3 separate regions of the Homo sapiens genome follow, and all the other regions are linked to region 2. The links are contacts of gene promoters, found by promoter capture Hi-C in human tissues and cell types (Jung and others, 2019). All regions are on one chromosome and are shown on one strand. Each heading gives the region's core, a stretch centred on a gene start or on the middle of the fragment in contact. The rest is flanking DNA. Distances are from core to core; before and after follow the strand shown.

Evidence for each region. The method cuts DNA at HindIII sites, captures the fragments that hold promoters and counts their contacts. A contact is called where the count stands out against the background at its distance.
Region 1: a contact is called between a fragment that was not itself captured here and the fragment with the promoter of KRTCAP2 in region 2, in 2 of the 25 tissues and cell types used here (H1 embryonic stem cells and dorsolateral prefrontal cortex).
Region 3: the fragment with the promoter of LENEP here is called in contact with the fragment with the promoter of KRTCAP2 in region 2 in 1 of the 25 tissues and cell types used here (adrenal gland).

The regions. Positions count from the first base shown.
Region 1 is chr1:155,017,265-155,021,978 of GRCh38, forward strand. DCST2 (DC-STAMP domain containing 2) reads right to left here. Exons shown (of 15, transcript NM_144622.3): 15 at 1,263-1,496. The coding sequence ends at 1,280. ZBTB7B (zinc finger and BTB domain containing 7B) reads left to right here. Exons shown (of 3, transcript NM_001256455.2): 3 at 1-1,259. Among named protein-coding and RNA genes, the nearest start is that of DCST2, 14 kb to the right of the region's middle. RefSeq lists an enhancer at 11-155, a silencer at 52-521 and a cis regulatory region at 83. The HindIII fragment of the contact is 3,850 bases long and covers 897-4,714 here.
Region 2 is chr1:155,171,950-155,176,281 of GRCh38, forward strand. It overlaps KRTCAP2 (keratinocyte associated protein 2), which reads right to left and starts at 1,355. Exons shown (of 5, transcript NM_173852.4): 1 at 1,272-1,355; 2 at 789-943; 3 at 616-679. The coding sequence starts at 1,275. TRIM46 (tripartite motif containing 46) reads left to right here and starts at 1,900. Exons shown (of 10, transcript NM_025058.5): 1 at 1,900-2,080; 2 at 3,437-3,698; 3 at 3,939-4,282. The coding sequence starts at 2,018. RefSeq lists enhancers at 735-1,014, 1,118-1,626, 1,205-1,304, 1,505-1,554, 1,627-2,135 and silencers at 1,885-1,974, 2,144-2,438. The HindIII fragment of the contact is 7,811 bases long and covers 1-4,332 here.
Region 3 is chr1:154,991,543-154,996,262 of GRCh38, forward strand. It overlaps LENEP (lens epithelial protein), which reads left to right and starts at 2,044. Exons shown (of 1, transcript NM_001394530.1): 1 at 2,044-2,773. The coding sequence starts at 2,066. The coding sequence ends at 2,251. FLAD1 (flavin adenine dinucleotide synthetase 1) reads left to right here. Exons shown (of 7, transcript NM_025207.5): 6 at 1,171-1,244; 7 at 1,360-1,569. The coding sequence ends at 1,495. The HindIII fragment of the contact is 8,242 bases long and covers 1-3,561 here.

The DNA of each region.
Region 1 (4,714 bases), core at 1,572-4,071, 150 kb before region 2:
GTCCCCCTCCGCCCTGCTCCCGGCGCTGAGTCATGGGGTCGTGGAGAAGGGGGCGGGGTGGCCTGATTGGCTCGCCTGCCCCTGGGGGCAGTAGAGGGGCCCCGCCCAGCTAGGGGAGCCGCTCCGTTCCACTCCCCTCCCTAGCCCTCCCTCCCCACGGCCCTGGGCAGGGAATGTCTTGTTCCCGCCGCTCCCTCCCCGGGGCCAGAGGGCAGGGCGGGCCGGGCGGCGTCCTACCCTCTTCTCCTCCTCCCCATCTCCTCCCCGCCCAGGTGCGAGCCGGAGCCGCCGCCACCGCTGCCGCCCCTGACTCACGCCGCCCCCGGGCTGGCGCAGCGAAGGGTGTGGGACAGGGTAAGGGGTTGGAAGAGCCTTGTGGAGAGCGGGCGAGCCGGCGCCATCTGGCGGCCATGCTCTGAGTGGGCGAGCGCCCCCCGCGGCCACTGGAGCGAGCTGTCTTCACGCTCCTCATCCACCCCAGCTGGTGAGCGGCGCCCCCTTGCCAAGGCAGTGGGCACAGAACTTCTCGCTTGGCCGCAGGGGAAGGGGCTGCGGACCTGTGGGAAAGTGATCCCCTTCCCAGATCCTTGCCAGCCGGGCTTCCTGTCAGGCAGGGGAGAATAATCCCCACTCTGCTCTTAGGATTGAATCCACCCCCATTCTGTACATAGCCTCTTCTGTTGGTCTTGTTGAAATCTAGTTTCAGATTTTTAACTACCCAATTCTGCTGGGGGTGGGGGACACCCCCCCTTCCTCGCTGGGTGCTGGACCCCTTTTGCAGCCTGGGCTCTGCCTTGCACTATTTCCCCTTCCTGGCCTGACGGCTCCTCCCCCTCCTTAAAAGGGGCAGGTTCAGGGGCCCGGTGCTCTTCCTCCCTTCCATGCACCCCCATGCCCATTTGCACAGCTGCCCAGGTACCCCTAACAGTGGGGAGGGGTCACAGGGAGGGGGTAGCGGGACCAGTCCCTGTTATCTATTTAAAAAGTGATGATGTAATATATTGGGGTGGCGGGGAGATCGGGTTGTCCTGGGCCTCATCTTAGCATTTCAGGTGATGGGGGGAGCCCAGGGCTGGGGAGACCTGGGGCCCAGCCCCAGAAAGTGGGGACAATGTGGCCTCCCTTCTCCCTACTTTCGGCTTTCCCAGTCAGTGCCTTAGGGGGAGAGGCACTCCCCCCCTCCTATTCCCTTCCCCCCACCCCAACTCCCCCACCTCGGGTGTAAGCGACAGGAAGAAATAATAATAATTTAAGATTCACACTTGTGTCCACTTTTGGTTTATTTGGGGGGTGGGTGGGAAGGATCAGGAAGAGAGGGAGGTGAGAGAGGGACTGAGGGTTCTGAAGCTGGAGTGGGGGCTCCTTTAGTGGCGGAGGATGTCTCAGGTGGTCTGTGGGGCTCAGGGCTGGTGAGAATGCTGACAGGCTGATGGGCTTCAGGTAAGGGCTGCTGCCCGTGCTTCCTCTGCTGAGGCCCCTTCTCCTCATCCAGGTCACTAGTGAGGAGAGGAAGGGGGTGGCCGGATCACCCACCTTCTGTCTTCACAGGTGCATCCCTGCCCCCTGCCCTGCCCCATCTGTTCAGATCCAGCTCCTGTTCTTTCTGAGCAACTCCTGCTCTCTCAGGCCCACGAGGCGTACCAGCCCATGGCTGTAGATATTTTCTGATTTTAGGCTGATGCTGGGGGGTGGGCAGTGACTTGCCTGAGGCCACATGGCTAGGAAGGGCAGAATCACTAGTGACCTCAGTAGTCACACCTGCTCAAGGCTCAAGCTGTCCCCTCTGCTGACCCAGCTTATCCTTTCACTGGGCCCTCTAGAACCTCTGAAAAGAAAGCTTTGCTTCCCCTTCAACCTCTTGACTCATCATGACCTCTACCGCCCCATTCACACTGGAATGTGCCCACTGGACAGTTTTCTTTGCAGTCCTCCCAAGAGGAGGCAGCTTAACCTTCTCAAACCCAGCTGGCCCGTAGTGTTTTTTTGCAAAGCCCCTGGCTGCCATGATAGCTGTACCACCAGTGCTGTGGCTGTCTCCTCAGGCCTGCCAGACACCTGCCACATCTGTTTAAGATGCCGGCTCTGGACTCCTGCTGTTTGTATGGTCCTGCAACCTCGTCGCTAGAGGACCCACCCAATTCTCTGGCCTCTCAATCCCTAACCTCCTTGGTTCTATTGACCGTCATCTCTGTTCCCACTCAGACGTCTTCCTCAGCCTTGGCCTTTCACTGGATTCATTCCAGAGTTCTTCCCTGGCCATGGCCCCCTCTCTGAGTCCCTCCTGTTCAGCCAGCTCTCCCTCCTGGCCACTGCCCCTGCTCTAACACGTCATCAAGACAGAGACCCTGGGCTGCCCCCAGGGGCCTTAGCCCCTCCTCTTCCCCAGTCATCTCAGACACTCTTACCAAAGACACCTCAATTCTCACTCCATCTTGTCCTCCTGACCTGCCCAGAAAAAGCCCTCCACCTGTGAATCCTATTCATGGCTACCACATTTGCCAGAGAAAATCACATAACTGAGCGCACTGGAGCAATCATTACAAGTTACAGCTTCCAGCATCATCTGGGCCTTTGACGCTACCTGGAAATCCCTTAACCTCCCTAGTCGGCTTCTTTGCACACTTGCCACGGCAGGTCTTTCAACCTCTACCACCCACTCCTTGAAACCTTTATTCCACTCCCAGCTGCCTGCTCTGCTCTCTCAGCAGGTGCTCTTGCCTCCTACTCCCCAAAGAGAAGCGAGGCCACCAGGCTGGAGTGGGCTCAGCTGCTCAGGGGAACCTATACTCTCCCCCTCTGCCTCTGCCAGCCTGCTCCTTTCTCAGGCAGGCCACCTGGTCCACCTGGCCCTGGAGCCCAAACCTCCCTCCCCAACGTGCTTTTACACTGCCTAAATGCTCAAATCTTCCTGTTCTTAGATCTAGAAAACCCTTTTAGTGCTGAATCCCCTTCAAGCTACTTTCTTGCTCTGTGAAGCTAACTCTCTCTTTCTCTTCACCATCAAGCTTACATTTTTTTCAAACTACAGCACTCATTAGATTAAAAGCATTATCAAACTCCTGGCAACAGTGATGCAGGAGCCACATACCATATTTCTGAGTCCTTTTATTATTTATTTATTTTGAGACAGAGTCTTGCTCTGTCGCCCAGGCTGGAGTGCAGTGGCACGATCTCGGCTCACTGCAACTTCCGCCTCCCGCGTTCAAGTGATTCTTCTGCCTCAGCCTCCCAAGTAGCTGGGATTACAGGCGCCTGCCACCATGCCTAATTTTTTGTATTTTTAGTAGAGACAAGGTTTTACCATGTTGGCCAGGCTGGTTTCAAACTCCTGACCTCAAGTGATCTGCCCGCCTCAGCCTCCCAAAGTGCTAGGATTACAGGCGTGAGCCACCACACCCAGCCTTTCTGAGTCTTCTTTACCTGACACCCCTCAACCCATCATGACAGATCCAGTTTTGGTCTTCCCGATGCCATGAAAAATATTCCCACAAGCTACTCCAGTGATGTCTTAACTGCCTGTCACCTGTCTTCACATGATCCTACTTGATTTTTTTTTTTTTAATCTTCTAATTTTTTGAGACTGGGTCTTGTACTATTGCCCAGGCTGGAGTGCAGTGGTGCAATCTTGGCTCACCGCAGTCTCAGCCTCCCTGGCTCAAGTGATCCCTCCCACCTTAGCCTCCTGAAAGCTGGGACTAAAGATGCACGCCACCATGCCCAGCTAATTTTTGTATTATTACCTATTTATTTATTGAGACCAATCCTCCCTCTGTCACCCAGGCTAAAATGCGGTGGCACAATCTTAGCTCCCTGCAACCTCCACCTCCCAGGTTCAATCAATTCTCCTGCCTTAGCCTCCTGAGTAGCTGGGACTAACAGGTGCGTGCCACCACTCCTGGCTAATTTTTGTATTTTTAGTAGAGATGGGGTTTCACTATGTTAGCCAGGCTGGTCTCGAACTCCTGACCTTAAGTGGTCCTCCCGCCTCAGCCTCCCAAAGTGCTGGGATTACAGGCGTGAGCCACCATGCCCTGGCAAGTTTTTGTATTTTTAGTAGAGATGGAGTTTTGCCATGTTGCCCAGGCTGGTCTCGAACTCCTGGACTCAAGTGATCGGCCCACCTCGGCCTCCCAAATTGCTGAAATTACAGGTGTGAGCCACTGTGCCCATCCCCCTACTTGATTTCATATGTTTGGCTCTCCTGCTTTCTTGAGCCTCTCCCCTCCCTGTCCCCTCCCACTCTCCTGCCATGCCCTCTGCCAGGATGATCTAGCTCATCCTCTCTCTTACAGTCTCTAACTTAACCCCCCAAAAATATACCTCCAGCCCGGATCCCTGCCCTTTTCTAACTGCCCCCCTGGGCATCTCCAGCTGGATGCCCTACAGACACCTCAAAGATCTCAAACTGGGCCAGTCGTCTTTCCCCAGAACCTGTTTATCTTCCTGCCCTAACACCTGCCCAGGCCCAAGCATAGAAATCCCAGTCACGCTCAGCACTTCAGTACTGAGGCCATCACGAACTTCTCCTAGACTAAGACAAGCTTCTCTCTGACCTCCCTGCTCCTGCCCAACCTCCACTCTGCCTTCTTTGCTTATGGTCTTTTTTTTTTTTTTGGAGACTGAGTCTCACTCTATCATCCAGGCTGGGCTGGAGTGCAGTGGTGTGATCTTGGCTCACTGCAATCTCTGCCTCCTGGGTTCAAGCAATTCTCCT
Region 2 (4,332 bases), core at 105-2,604:
TTCTGAGCACGTGGCATTCCTTAAGTAATCTGGCCTTGACACTTAATTTGCTTTATAAACTTAATTCTCCATAAATAACTGAATCATCAATTCTTGATTACATGAGCAATTGAACAAGAATTATTCCAAACAGGAAATAATCTAACAGTTATTCTGATTTGGTCAGGATTCCTGCTGCCATAGATATTTGGTGCCTCTAGTATTTAGGCTCTTCACAATTCCCTCAAATAAGTAGAATTCTCTAATATTGAGTTAACTTCACATCAGAACTCCATAGTGAACTTGGTCCTGCTGCTTCTTCTGGTGGGAACAAGGACCGCCTCCCAGCGAATAGATGCAAAACATCAGCCCAAATTTGCCTGTTCCCCTCAAACCTTCCCTGGGAGCTGGCCAGAAGGTACCAAAGTTTCTTGCTTTCAAAGGCCTTCTCTTCCAGCTCCAACTCCAGGAGCTATACAAGGTGCAGAATCGAAAAGCGTCATCTGTCTTCAGACAGCTTCAGTAAATATATTTCTCCTTAACAACCTTTCACCTAAGCATCTGGAAATTCAATATCATGTTTCAGGAGGTTAAAGAGGAGAAAGTTCAAATACTCAAGCTCCAATATTCACTTACTCTCAGGGAAGATCTTTGCTTGGAATCCTTTGCCAAAGACAAGATTCTCCAGATTATTGAAGGCCTGGTTGAGGGAGTTAAGGAGTAGGGTGTGCAACGGGGACAGAGCTGTGTGGGGAAGGGGAAGGGCACATGCCTACGTGGCCCGCCCCCTCCAACTGCAGGGAGGATACAGTGAGCGAGAACACGAAGAGACCCGAACCAAGCAGGCCGCCCTGGATGGTGAGCCACTCGGTGGAGGCCAGCTGACGGCTGTACATCTGCATCCCAGCAAAGAGCAGCAGGGACAGGAGGGAGGAGAGCGCCAGCGAGGTGCCCGTACCCACCACTGGAGGGGATGGGAGAAGGGACGGAGAGTCAGGCTCCGCCCTCCCTCCGGCAAGCTACGGGCAGATCAGCCGGTCCGGAAGCTCGGTGGGCCGACCCCCTCCAAGAACTCCCGGGACTGCAGCCACACGCCCCAACTCCCCACACCGCGCGGCAACCCCTACGTATTCCCCAGCCCCGGACACCCCGAACCCTCCCGTCCGGTGGAAATGCCCGCTCCCGGTGGAACCCAGGACACGTCAGCTCTGTCGGGAGAGGACGAGGAAAGCTTGTCCACCCAAACCCCGACCCCCTCTAGGACTTCCTGGGGACCCCACCGGTCCTGTTACCCATCATGCCCCGCCCGTGAGTCCAACCGGCGCCTCTGGCCAAGAAAGGCGAGCTGAACCGGGTGCGGTTAGCTATGCGCATGCGTCAGCGCTTACCGCGGACTTGCTACTCCTCGCGTTCTCCTCTTTCTTCCTCTCAGTGCCTGGACGCAGCGCCCTCTTGCGACAGGGAGGAAATAATGCGTCGAGGGGGCATCCTCGGCCACCGCCCTGGTCCTCAGGCTTTCCTCGTACCTGGTGCGTCTGCTGCCACTCTGTACAAGGTGCACTTATCTCTTTAAGTCATTGGGCCCATGCCTGTGGCATCTATCCCATCTCTGTCTTCTTTGCCATTTCTTTCATCTCTAGTGCACGTTCCTCAAACCTCCCTGCCCCATGCCTCAACATCTCCCAACCTAAAATTTAGTGCTCCCAACCAGGAACTCATTTTCCTCCGAAACTAATCCCCCGCTTTATATGAGTAAAATTAGGAGCCAATGAAAAATGAGAATGTAAGAAATGGCTCCCCCGTCAAATACCTTTCCATATTCCCCAACCCCCCGACCGGCTTTCGAGAACCACGTGGGGAGAACTATTTCCCACCCCCTACCCCGACGGGCGCTGTTCGAGGCTGGTCCCGGGAGCATGCGCAGTGACACCTCAACCCCCAGCCCTCCTCACACCCCCACTGGGCTCCTGCATTAAGCCCGGGGTTCGCAGCCGCAGCCGGGATCGGGCACCCAGGGGCGGGCGGGCACGGTAGGGCCATGGCAGAGGGTGAGGATATGCAGACCTTCACTTCCATCATGGACGCACTGGTCCGCATCAGTGTGAGTTAAGGTGGGGTCGAGGGAAGGGGAGGGGGCGTATAGGGTTCTGGGGCAAGCTGGGACCTGGAACAGGTGGGGATCCAGGAAGATGCTGGGATGTAGACAGGGGGCTAGCGATGGCAGAAACGGCTGGGAGGGTCGGGATGCAGGTATGAGAGGGTAATCCCGGGAGCAGCCCGGAGGTGAGTGCCGTGAAGGCGTCGGTGTGCTGGAGCGTGAGGAGGAGCTAGGAGCAGCCCAGACGCAGCGGGTGGGCTGGGGTGGCCTCCAGCAGTGCACCGGGGCTGGGGCTTCAGGGGAAAGGCCCTGTTATGAGAAGAGGGACGTGTGAGCTTGGATATTTTCCAAGAAAACTGAGGACAGGTGGGGGATGATGTAGGAGCCGCCCCACAGTGCAGTTCCCAATTTGGACCCCTCCCCAAGACCCCACCCCACGCACCCCCACTCAGGGCTGCTTCCGAGCCTGCGGTTGTCATGGCAACCCGTGCCTGGCTCTCCCAGGGGCGGTGCCAACCGTGTTCCCCCCCACCACTTCCTCCCCCCCTCCTTGTTCCTCCCTCCTTTGTGTCAGCTGCGCCCCTGACCGGGATGGCTGCGAAGAGAGGGACCAAGGTGAGGTGTGGGGGTGGGGCATAGCCTGAGGACCCCCACTCTCGCCACCAAGAGGGGGAGGGGACTTCCGGTGGGGAGGGGGCGAGTAGGCGGGGCTCTTGATTCCCCCGCTAGTTCGGAGAAGGGGGTGCCGCTGACCGGGTTGCGCTGCGGGAGAGGGCGGGAGGGCCTGATGGGGGCGAAGGGGAATGGGTTGGTAAGACCGATGGGGAAGTGAAGGATGGGGAATGGAGGCTGGAGTGGCCGCAGGCCGGAGCTGCGGCAGGAGGACGTATGGAGCGAGCAGGATGGAGTGCCAACCTCGCCTGGCTATCGGGAGGAATCACGGCATGGGGGTGCTGCTAGAGAAGGGAGTGGGGGTCTGCATGGAGCTGCAGAATGGGCGGTGTCCTTGAGAAAAATGCCAGGGGCAAGCTGCCCAGAGATGGGGGATGGAGGCAGGTGAGGGGGCTGCCAGCTGGGGCTACTGCAGCTGGAGAAATGGGGATTGGGCTTGAGGCTGGAGCAGGCACAAGCTCCAACCGTCCCTCCTCTGGGCCTTTAGCTCTGCAGCGGGGAAAGAGAAGCAAGGGACAGAGGTCTGGGAAGGTCTGTGAACCAGCCCAAGGCAGGTGCTCTGGAAAAGCTGCAGGTAGCTTGTCTTGCTCCTTCCTCAGACCCCTAGGGTATCCAAGGGCAGCCAAGGGGCTGCTGAGGTATGCCTAAGTGTCCAAGCGCTGACCTAGCCTCCTGGTCCCTCCACAGACCAGCATGAAGAACATGGAGAAGGAACTGCTGTGCCCAGTGTGTCAAGAGATGTACAAGCAGCCACTGGTGCTGCCCTGTACCCACAACGTGTGCCAGGCCTGTGCCCGAGAGGTCTTGGGCCAGCAGGGCTACATAGGACATGGTGGGGACCCCAGCTCCGAGCCCACCTCTCCTGCCTCCACCCCTTCCACCCGCAGCCCCCGCCTCTCCCGCAGAACTCTCCCCAAGCCAGACCGCCTGGACCGGCTGCTTAAGTCAGGTGGGACTGGGGCCTGTAGGGTGGGGATGGGAACGCTGAGCTATTCATCAGGAAGATGGAAGAAGTCCATCACTGGTCAGAGGCATCTGTCTGTCTTTCTGGGGGGTGGAGATACTGCTTACGCAGGCTCTAATGAGAGCTGAGCTCTGGCACAATGAAAATCTAATTTAATTAAACAGGCTTCCCCACACCCAGCCAGCTGTAACTCTCATGTCCTCTACCTCCCTGGTTCACCCACAGGCTTTGGGACATACCCTGGGAGGAAGCGAGGTGCTTTGCACCCCCAAGTGATCATGTTCCCGTGCCCAGCCTGCCAAGGTGATGTGGAGCTTGGGGAGCGGGGTCTGGCAGGGCTTTTCCGGAACCTGACCCTGGAGCGTGTGGTGGAGCGGTACCGCCAGAGTGTGAGTGTGGGAGGTGCCATCCTGTGCCAGTTGTGCAAGCCCCCACCACTAGAGGCCACCAAGGGCTGCACAGAGTGCCGCGCCACCTTCTGCAATGAGTGCTTCAAGCTCTTCCACCCCTGGGGCACCCAGAAGGCCCAGCATGAGCCCACCCTGCCTACCCTCTCCTTCCGACCCAAGGTGAGCCAGCCCTTCCAAGGCCTGGGGAGGGAGGGACATGCTGCTGCAGG
Region 3 (4,720 bases), core at 794-3,293, 180 kb before region 2:
AGACTCCGTCCAAACAAACAAAAAAAAAATACAGTTATTCAGTTGTACTAGCCACATTTCAAATGACCACCATATTAGACAGTAGAGATACAGAACATTTCCATCATCACAGGAAGTTCTGGCCAGGCACAGTGGCTCACACCTGTAACCCCAGCACTCTGGGAGGCCGAGGTGGGCTGATCAATGCCTGTAGTCCCAGCTACTCAGGCTGAGGCGGGAAGATCGCTTGAGCCAGGGAAGTCGAGGCTGTAGTGAGCCATGATCATGCCAGTGCACTCCAGCCTGGGCAACAGTAAAGGCCCTGTCTAAAAAAAATAGGGCTGGGCACGGTGGCACACGCCTGTAATCCCAGCACTTTGGGAGGCCGAGGCAGGCACATCACGAGGTCAGGATTTCAAGACCAGCCTGACCAACATGGTGAAACCCCATCTCTACTAAAAAAATACAAAAATTAGCCGGCTGTGGTGGCGCATGCCTGTAATCCCAGCTACTCAGGAGGCTGAGGCAGGAGAATTGCTTAAATCTGGGAAGCGGAGGTTGCAGTGAGCCAAGATCGCGCCACTGCACTCCAGCCTGGGTGACAGAGCAAGACTCCGTCTCAAAAAAAAAAAAAAAAATAGGGCCGGGCATGGTGGCACACGCCTGTAATCCCAGCACTTTGGGAGGCCGTGGCGGGCGGATCATGAAGTCAGGAGATGGAGACCATCCTGGCTACACAGTGAAATCCCGTCTCTACTAAAAATACAAAAAATTAGCTGGGCACAGTGGTGGGCGCCTGTAGTGCCAGCTACTCGGGAGGCTGAGGCAGGAGAATGGCATGAACCCGGGAGGCAGAGGTTGCAGTGAGCCAAGACCACGCCACTGCACTCCAGCCTGGGCGACAGAGCCAGACTCCGTCTCAAAAAAAAAATAGACGGTTTCTCCCTGTCCTCAAGCTCCACCCTTGCACTAGAGGGTGGTTCAAGAATGGAAAGCAGAGAGTGGAGAAGATGAAGTCCTTCTCTTTCTCTTTGCATACATAGAGCAAGCTATACCAGAGAATCAGATAGCAAGCCCTCCCTCAGAGGCCAAGGGAGCAGAAGAGCCATGGATGGGCCCCTTCCCAGGACAGCAGGGGTAGAAGTGGGAAAGGTGAGCATTTGTGACTATTCTATTACTCTGACCTCCCAGGACTGGACCTACAGAGACATCTGGGATTTTCTGCGTCAGCTGTTTGTCCCATACTGTATCCTGTATGACCGAGGGTAAGGGTATTAGGGGAAGGGAATGGGTAAGGGAGTTTTTAGGGTGCTGGGATAGGGAGGGCCAATAGGATCGCCCACCCTACCACATGCTTGCCCTCCACCCTCCCTGCTCCAGATACACATCACTGGGGAGTCGGGAGAATACCGTGCGGAACCCGGCCCTGAAGTGCCTGAGCCCAGGAGGACACCCCACATACCGTCCAGCCTATCTACTGGAGAACGAAGAAGAGGAGCGGAACTCCCGCACATGACCTCCCACCCTAGGAGGGAGGGAAGGACACCGTCCTAGGGTATAACCTGGCAATAAACCGTGCCTCTCACTGTGCCTGTTGCTCTAGCTGTGTCTTCCTGCTCCAGAGGATGGGAGAAGCAGAAGTGGGTCAAATGCTGCCAGCTCTGACTGGCTGTGCTCACTCTAAGGGGCCCAGGGGCAGGGCAGAACAGGCTGGAAAGGAGCTCTCACTGATGGTTCTCAATGTCAGCCTCAGCAGGAGCCCACCAGAGGGCGAAAGCAGGAGTTGTGCCAACCACTGGGAAAAGGGCAATCAGGCAGGGCACCACCTGGGCTGGAAGAGGGGAAGCTGCCTTGGCCTAGCTGTGGAGGATGAAAGATGGAGTGGCCAGGCCCTCCCTCCCACTAACCCCACCCTCCCATCCCTGTCTAGAGGGGCTGACTCAGCCTGTTCCCAGGCCTAGAACCTTCCCTTTGCTAGACCCTGGATCCTTTGTCTCTGTAGTCATGAGGCTGAAGGGGGTGGGGACAGTGTTGATAAAAGGCACTAGAGGCAGCTCCCACACCCTTCCTCGGAACTGTTGCCCACATGCAGCCCCGGACACAGCCCCTAGCCCAAACCCTACCCTTCTTCCTCGGAGGGGCCCCTCGAGACACTGGGCTGCGGGTGCCTGTCATTAAGATGGGCACAGGGTGGGAGGGCTTCCAGCGGACCCTGAAGGAAGTCGCCTACATCCTCCTCTGCTGCTGGTGTATCAAGGAACTGCTGGATTAATGGTAGCAGGGAACTGCCTCCTCTCCCCACCAGCACCATGGCTGGCATCGCTCAGGTGGGCAGGGTAGAGTAAACAGGAGGCATAGCTGCAGCTTCTGTGGCAGAGCTTGCCTTAGCTTCTCATTCTCTTCTTTAGCCCCCAGCCCAATTGCCATCAAGACTCCTGAAGCCAGCTGTGCTTGACCAAGGATGGGCCATAAACAATGAGTAAACAGTAAAGTGTGGATCCTGCTTTGAGCTGTGTCATCTAGCAGACCTGCCTCATCTCTGAGCCTCCTTCATTCCCAACCCCTGCCTCTGGTGGACCTCTGGTGGGCAGGAGCTTGGACTGCTCTGGCTAGGACCCCAGTAAGATTGTGGCAAGACCTGGCACTCCTCCAAGCTTGGCACAGTGAGCCCACCAGCTCAGATGGTTGATCTTACCATACCCTCATAGTACCAAGAATGGACTGCCCCCTAAGAAACCTGTTTGAGAATCACTGAATTATAAATATAATCCATAGGCCTTGAGGCCCAAGATTATAAGTGTCTAAAGGGGAATCAGAAAAAGTCAGCACTAGAACGGTCTGGGAGCAAGGGTGCAGACCAGGGAGGGAAGGAGCTTGTCCTGAATAGAACCAAGATTGAAAGCCAGGTTTTCTGACTCACTGGTTCCTGAGTGGGGAGGGTGGAAGACAGTTCAGGTTCCTCTCAATCTGTGGGTAAGGAGGGGACCCAGCTTGAGTAGGGTCTTCATCTGTGAGGCCAAGGGTGTGTGGAAACCCAGAGGACCCAGCCCTTTCCCAAATAGAAGACCTGGTCCAGGCAGCTTCCTGCCTCTGAGGATCTTGGGGAAAGCACTGCGCTGAGGCTAGTCCCCAGCTCATCAAGGAAGTAGGACCCCATGAGCTACAAGAGCTCCCAGCTCACATACAAAGTTACCAGAGAAAGACACCTGTGTGGCCACACAGGTCCCTCAGGCTTATCATGACACAGCCCTATCAGGACATAAACAGCTAGATTGAGCAGAATTGGCTCTTTACTTCCTCTTGGTAGCCACAGCTGGTATTTTCCATGAGTTACTCCCGGTGGTAGATATACACCAGCCATGTGTATCGTCTTGCTCAGGGGGTGCTTATGCTTACTGATCTGCCCACCCACAGCCCCCCAAACCTCAGAGCCAGCCTGTTTGGGACTGTTCAGTATTTCCCTGGGATTCCCATCCAGCATTCTCTGGCCCCTCCTGGGGGGCCAGTTATCATCCCCCAGCCCTTTGTCACTTGGGGCACTGGCCTGGAGATTATAGATAGTGCCCTCTTCCTCCCTGCCTGGGACCAGCTCTTCCTCAGCCTTCTTCTTAGTTAACTCTTTTTTTTTTCTAGATTCTTTTTGTAAAGGTGATATATGCCCAGAGTAAAGAACTTTAGGCCAGGCCAGGTACAGTGGCTCACACCTGTAATCCCAGCACTTTGGGAGGCAGAGGCGGGCAGATCACCTGAGGTCAGGAGTTCTAGACCAGCCTGGCCAACATGGTGAAACTGCATCTCTACTAAAAATAATTAGCTGGGCGAGGTGGTGAGTGCCTGTAATCCCAGCTACTTGGGAGGCTGAGACAGGAGAATCACTTGAACCCGGGAGGCAGAGTTTGCGGTGAGCTGAGATCATGCCACTGCGCTCCAGCCTGGGGGACAAGAATGAAACTCTGTCTCAAAAAAAAAAAAAAAAAAAAAGGCCGGGCGCGGTGGCTCACATCTGTAATCCCAGCACTTTGGGACAAGGCCGAGGTGGGTGGATCACTTGAGGTCAGGAGTTCGAGACCAGCCTGGCCAGCATGGTGAAACCCCATCTCTACTAAAAATACAAAAAAATTAGCTGGACGTGGTGGCACATGCCTGTAGTCCCAGCTACCTGGGAGGCTGAGGCAGGAGAATGGCTTGAACCCAGGAGGTGGAGGTTGCAGTGAGCCAAGATTGCACCATTGCACTCCAGCCTGGGTGACACAGCAAGACTTCGTCTTATAAAAAAAAAAAAAAAAAAAAAAGAACTCTAATAGTTAAAAGTCTCCACGTCTATCCCCCAATCCTTTAGCGCTCCCCCTGGAGGCAACCATGGTTACCAGTTTCTTGGAGAACATTCCAGTCTGTGCATAGACTGCATCTTCATTCATTCAACAAATATTGAGTTATTGAGTGTATATTATATGTCACTGTGGGTCTTTGGATGCAGCAGTGAACAAAACAGATCCTTGTACTTGTGAAGCTTACATTTTAGGGGGTGGAGAGGACAAACTATAAACATTTTTTAAAGTATGTATATGTTATTAGATGATAGGCACTATAGAAAAAAGAAGTGGAAATCGAGCTGGAGGTGGGAATGGGGGCAGGTCATAGAGGGCCTAAGAATTTGAGCTTTTATGCTGAGTGAAATGAGGAACTATTGCCGAATATTGAGTGTGAAATGAGTTTTTTAATTTAAAAGGCTCAAGCTGGC